2 separate regions of the Homo sapiens genome follow, and region 2 is linked to region 1. The links are contacts of gene promoters, found by promoter capture Hi-C in blood cells and fetal thymus (Javierre and others, 2016). All regions are on one chromosome and are shown on one strand. Each heading gives the region's core, a stretch centred on a gene start or on the middle of the fragment in contact. The rest is flanking DNA. Distances are from core to core; before and after follow the strand shown. Region 1 holds the start of SPRED1 (sprouty related EVH1 domain containing 1). Region 2 overlaps DPH6 (diphthamine biosynthesis 6).

Region 1 (2,804 bases), core at 133-2,632:
GTAAGAATCCAGGCAGCGAGGCGAGGTGTTAAAACACACATACATTCTCATATTCTCTCTCTCTCTCTCTCACACACACACACACACACACACACACACACATACACTTCGTGCATGCAGCTAGGGGACTGCAGCAGTGCAACCAGGGGGACAGCAGGAGGAGCTCTCTTTGCAGTCCCTGCTTCTAACCCCCACTAACTAAAGATGAACTCATGCCAGTTCCATTCTTTGCTCTGCAAAGAAAACACACACACACACACACACACACACACACACACACACACACACACGGCAGAAGAGAGTAGCCTCCAGATTTCCCCTCTGAGCACACTGTCTTTCTAGCCTCTTCGTTCAAGCAACCCGGATATTCCAAGCAGAGTAACGGGGAGTAACGCGCCACAACAATGCAACCTCCCTAGCAGCTCCCCTCGCAGCTCCCACCCCCGCCCCCTTTCGCGGCGTGCCAAGAGTTTGGAGCGCGCGCACGCACACCGAGCACGGTGCAGGGAGGATATCCCTCCGCCTCCCTCCCCCTTTCTCCGCTAAGTGGCTCGACAACGATTTGGGAAATGAAGGGAGGAGGGAACTACTTTCCTGAAACTTGCTATGCTGCACATGACTTCGAGTTGCAGTGATTCGCCCGGAGGCCGCGGCTTTTAGTCCTACCCACACACCCTCACAGCCTGGGCACCCCGCTCGGCAGCCCCACCCCGCGCCCGCTCTGGCCTCCGGGGAAAGCGGGCGGCCGGGAGAAGTCGCGAGGGACTACTTCGCCTCCTTCTCTCGCGGGCGCCCCCGGTTCGGGCAGCGGCTGCGGCGGCGGAAGGAGCGGGCGGCGTGAGCGCTTCCGCCGCCCCCCTCGCGGCTCCCCTCTCTCGGGCGTGAGGAGCTGGCCCGCTGAGCTGCTGGTGGGCACTGGCTGGCGGGGAACCTGCAGCCGCTCTTGTCCTCTCCCGCCGCTTCTCGGGATCCTGCCCCCCGGACCCGGGCCCGCCCGCTCTTCTCCGGCCGGGTGGGAACGATCGGTTTGCCTGCCCCTCGCCTCACACGCTCCCCGCCGCCCCCTCCACCCCCCTGAGGAGGAGTCCCGGCTGGAGCGTGTCTGGAGGAATCCGCCGCCGCGGGGCCCCTAGCCCTGCTCTGCCGGCGCCTGAGGACCGACCCAGACGCCGCCGGGGGTTGAGGGGCAGCCGGCGGCGAGGCGGGAGATGGTGGGGTGGGCTCCGGCAGGACCGCGCCGCCGCTGCCCGGAGCCTGGGCTCGGCACCCCCCCGCCGGCCCCCACCGAGCGGAGCTCTGCTTCCTCCTCGCCGCATCCCTGAGGGAAGCGCCGCCTCTGCTCCCGGGTTCTCCGCCCGCCGACTCCTTCCTGGCCGGACCCCGCTGCGCTCCACCCCAGTGGCTGGAGGAGCAGCTCTCCAGTCAGCCTTTGCAGCCCCTCTCTTTTTCCCTTTCCACCGGGCCTCCTCGGATCCCTTGGCTGGGCACTGAGGCGGGGGAAGAGGCTGGGGTCGCCACGGCGGAGGTTGCTGCCGCCACCCCCCTGCGGGGGTGGCCGGGGTTCCCGGCTGGGGGGGTACCGTTCTGGGTGAGGCATCCACCATGGTGAGGCCCCTGTGCCGCTGCCCCCGCGCCCCCCCGGCCGCCGCTGCCTCCTGCCCCTCGGTGCTGCTGTTGCTCCCCCGCCTGCTGTTGCTCCTCCATCTCCAGATCGGATCACGGTGAGGGAAAGATGAGCGAGGAGACGGCGACTTCTGACAACGAGTAAGCGCCTCATTGATCTCGATTGCTAATCCCCCTCCCCCTATCCGCCCTCGGCTCTCCCCCAGACCCATCCGAAACTTGGGTGCCGGAAAGCTTGCGACCCTGGAGAGTTCGGTGCATCTTCTGGAGATAGCTGATTTCTTTAGCCATTTTTAGTGGCAGCACCCCTCCCCATCCTCCCACATTTAGCTGCTTTCTTTTGGGGTAGGGGATTAAGTGTTGGGAGAGGATGGCAATTGTACGTCTATGAGAGGGAATAATGTGGATGGATGGAAGTGGAGTAGAAACTACCCCTTTGCCTGTGAGACCCCTGTCCCGTCCTTTTTCACTCACATACCAGTCACCATACCTTCAGTATCCATCCTACTTCCTTTATAGCTGTTTCACTTGGAAACTAATGTGTGGGAGCACCTCCTGCAGCAAACTGCTCTTGAATCTTAATTCGATGAGTCAGTGACTCTTAAATACCGATTAAGCCTTCACCCTCTCCCCCCTCCCCCTTTTAAACTTATGACCTGTAAGATTCTTGTAAAAAATAGGGTTAGGGAAACATTTTTAGAATTTAATAGGATTAAGGACACCTGGAGTGTGGGCGATGTTGAGCTAGAGTTTACCTTTGTGAATATTGGACGTGTCTTCAGGAACGGAGAAGAATTTTGAATGCTAATTTTTACCTTTCAGCTATGTGAAAACACATGATTTACGTTGATGTAACCGAATTTACATTGCTGAATATGTTGGTGATTTCATTAACTTTTAGAGCATTCCGGTTTAAGTTTTAGCTTATTTGGGCTTTCTCCTTGCTTTCCAAACGAAATACTTCGTCTTTTAAATGTTTTGCTTTAACGTGACAGCTGCGTGGAGAAATAATGGTTGGCAACACTTTTCTATTGAGAAGGGATTTAATTCCAAGCAGAATATTAGCATCCGTTTTCTTGTAATTAAGTTCAACTTTTGTTTATCTTCGGAGGGTTGGAAAGAGTTAAGTGAGTTAGGACTTAGTCATTTGGATGCATTCCTTTAAATACAGTGCATTACTA
Region 2 (2,804 bases), core at 111-2,610, 2.7 Mb before region 1:
TGGTTTTGGAAATAAAGTTACCATTTGAGCATCTCTAATGACCTGGCCAACTTAAATATATTATCTCTAATACCTCACAAAAACATCAAAGGATAAGGTGTTTTTACTCCCATTTTATAGAAGAGAAAGCAGCTGCAGGGGTTAAGACGTGTTCAATATTACATAGTGAATACATGAAGAAACCAGGACTTGGGCCCGTGATCTTTTTATTAAAACACTTTCAGAAGCAAAATAAACTTAATCCATAACATTTTTCTCTTCTAATCATATCTAAATATGATTCCTGCTTTTATTATCCATAACTTCACATCTAGTTGCATTTTACAATGAAAAACTTAGCTATCAATATATACAATCAAAAAGGTAACCAAAAAGAGAAAAAGGAAATCTAAAATTTAAATCAATGCTAATGAATGACAAACACTTTAGTCATTGTGTAACTCCCTTGGTTTGAATTTAAATAATGTCATGTATAACGACTGGGTTTCACAATTCAGGAATAAATAGAAGTCAAATTTTAGGCAGCCCACTCAGATTCTAATTAAATAGAAAAAACAAGTACAAAGGAACTAAATTATTTTTAAAAAATACTCCTATCAGAGTTCAACTTCAAAAAGATATTTCATGAACAGACAGTACAGCCTGTAAGATTCCATCTTTCTCAAATTACTCTGATGAACGTCTGATAAAACTTGAGATTTACCAAGGGATAAAAAGAAGAAGCAGCCAATAATTCTAAATGAAAACTCAGAATGGTCTTTTGTTCTCTTTGTTTAAAGTAAAGCCACTAGTGAAAAACAAGAATGTCTACTTAGGAAAAAGGGGTCTCTTGTTTGAACAAAAATTAAATTTAAATGTCCTGTTTCTTACCTGAACATTTGAAATCATCTACATCTGTCTAATGTTCACTAAAAGACTATAGAGGGCACTGTTGCATCAGCTTTGAAGCTTTACAATAGAGGCTGAGAAAAAGAAAACTGTCTATAACATGTAATTTCTCTAAAGGGTCAAATGCATGGAAATCTACTAAGCCTGATATAAAGGGGAAAGAACTAAAATGTATGTTTTTCTAAAACAGGCTGGACTTCAATGGGGGAAAAAACTTAACAAAAACAACTGTCAAATAGAGAAGACTGCACTGCACACATTTTGCATTTCCCTTTGTAGTGCTTTCATGAGAAAGGTAAGTAATCATAGCACCTCCTTATCCATTGGAAACAGCACCCCACTGCAGAATCCTCTTTACAATCAATAGGCAACTGAATGTGGCACCTCATGCAATTCTTCCATAATTCTATCAACAGAAAGAATGCAGTCTGTTTGCATACTTTTGTCTAAAAGACCAATTCCATTTGTCCCTTCTTGGATAAAATGACAGCTACAGATCAATCACTCTCACGTGAAAGTAAACATGCTACAAAAAAAAACAAAAAAAAAACAAAAGAAGAAGAATCAAAACTGAAATCCTCGCCTATTTTAAGCATAATTTTATTACACATAAAAACTCAAAGTAAAATAGAAAAAGCAAGTTTTTCCTCATAGACATGCATTTTGTGCTATTATACAACAGTATCAGGATGTAAAATAAATAAGTTACATCAAACAATAGTCATGAATCTTACCTTTACATATGGACAGCACTTAATTAAGTTCCATATATTTTCTATTCTCTCACATAATTCCTGTTACAATTCTTTGAAATTAAATCCAATTAAGTACAGTGTCAAAGGTACTTTCAGTACATATATACAATAAGACTAGCATACACAGCATAAAGCTTCTTATAATACTACCATTTAATTTTTTTCCACTAAAAATAATGCAAAAGTAAAAGGGAGTTAAATTATCTCATTTTGGTAATTTGAAAATAATATCCTGAATTGCTGAACCTCTGTAGAAACATGGACATTAGCTGTGAGAATTATAATATGATCAAACCAAGTAGAATATGTACAATGAAAAAAAAATCCTCCATTAATGTATATCTAATCATACCACCATATCACATATTGGATAAATCCACATTAATACAGGTACCATAATAAAACTAAGGCCTCTAATAAAGGAACCCAAATTCCCTGGAAAAACAGTATACAACTCATTTTGTCACTCTCAAAATTCCAGAGAGATTAGCACCTTCTCTGAAATCAAAGTGCAGAACTGTGAAAGTGTTACAAATTCTCCAGTAATATGTCAACCTACTCATAAATCAAAAGGAGGGGAAGGGGCTTTAGATGGTATGTAGATTTCATTTTATTACAAAAGCTCCAGTTTAACAAGTTATTTTCAGCCAATAAAAGTCAAAAAGTAAAGCAATGCTAAAGTGGCTAGTACTGACTCTGAGGCTTTACTTTTTAACTGAAATGCTACTTGAGTATTGCTCCCTTAAATTATTAATTTATGGGTTTTGCTTAGTTTCCTCCTAAGGCAAGGCAGTTCTAGTCACAGGTACATTGAATGCATGTAAATAAACAGAAAGCTTTTATAATGGTCCTGTAATTCACTAAACATAATAAACAACCTTTTTTAATGAATGTTGAATGTACAATCCTATGAACCAACTTTATATAAATAGACTATATCATCTAAAGAATCTGTAAGATCCTCTAGGAAGTAAATGAACAAATTCAGAAAAATTAAACATAGGCTGATTGCTTTTCATTGATCTAACAAAATTAATGCTTACAACAGAATCAAAGTGCTGATAGGACTATGAAGAGTTGTGTTCAATTTTGAAGAAATCTAAGAGAAAGTGTCATGAACTGTGAGAAAATGTATTTGCAATATTGCTTTTCATCTACCAC

What was found. Contacts are between HindIII fragments. The CHiCAGO score rates a contact against its expected background, and 5 or more counts as called.
Region 2: a fragment that was not itself captured here is called in contact with the fragment with the promoter of SPRED1 in region 1 in 5 of 17 cell types (total CD4 T cells, naive CD4 T cells, naive CD8 T cells and 2 more); the score reaches 10.9 in total CD4 T cells.

The regions. Positions count from the first base shown.
Region 1 is chr15:38,251,454-38,254,257 of GRCh38, forward strand. It overlaps SPRED1 (sprouty related EVH1 domain containing 1), which reads left to right and starts at 1,383. Exons shown (of 7, transcript NM_152594.3): 1 at 1,383-1,764. The coding sequence starts at 1,733. RefSeq lists silencers at 733-1,032, 1,043-1,092, 1,193-1,292, 1,473-1,532, 1,543-1,592 and 1 more. The HindIII fragment of the contact is 4,356 bases long and covers 1-1,855 here.
Region 2 is chr15:35,518,803-35,521,606 of GRCh38, forward strand. All of the region lies in intron 3 of DPH6 (diphthamine biosynthesis 6), which reads right to left. Among named protein-coding and RNA genes, the nearest start is that of DPH6, 26 kb to the right of the region's middle. The HindIII fragment of the contact is 829 bases long and covers 947-1,775 here.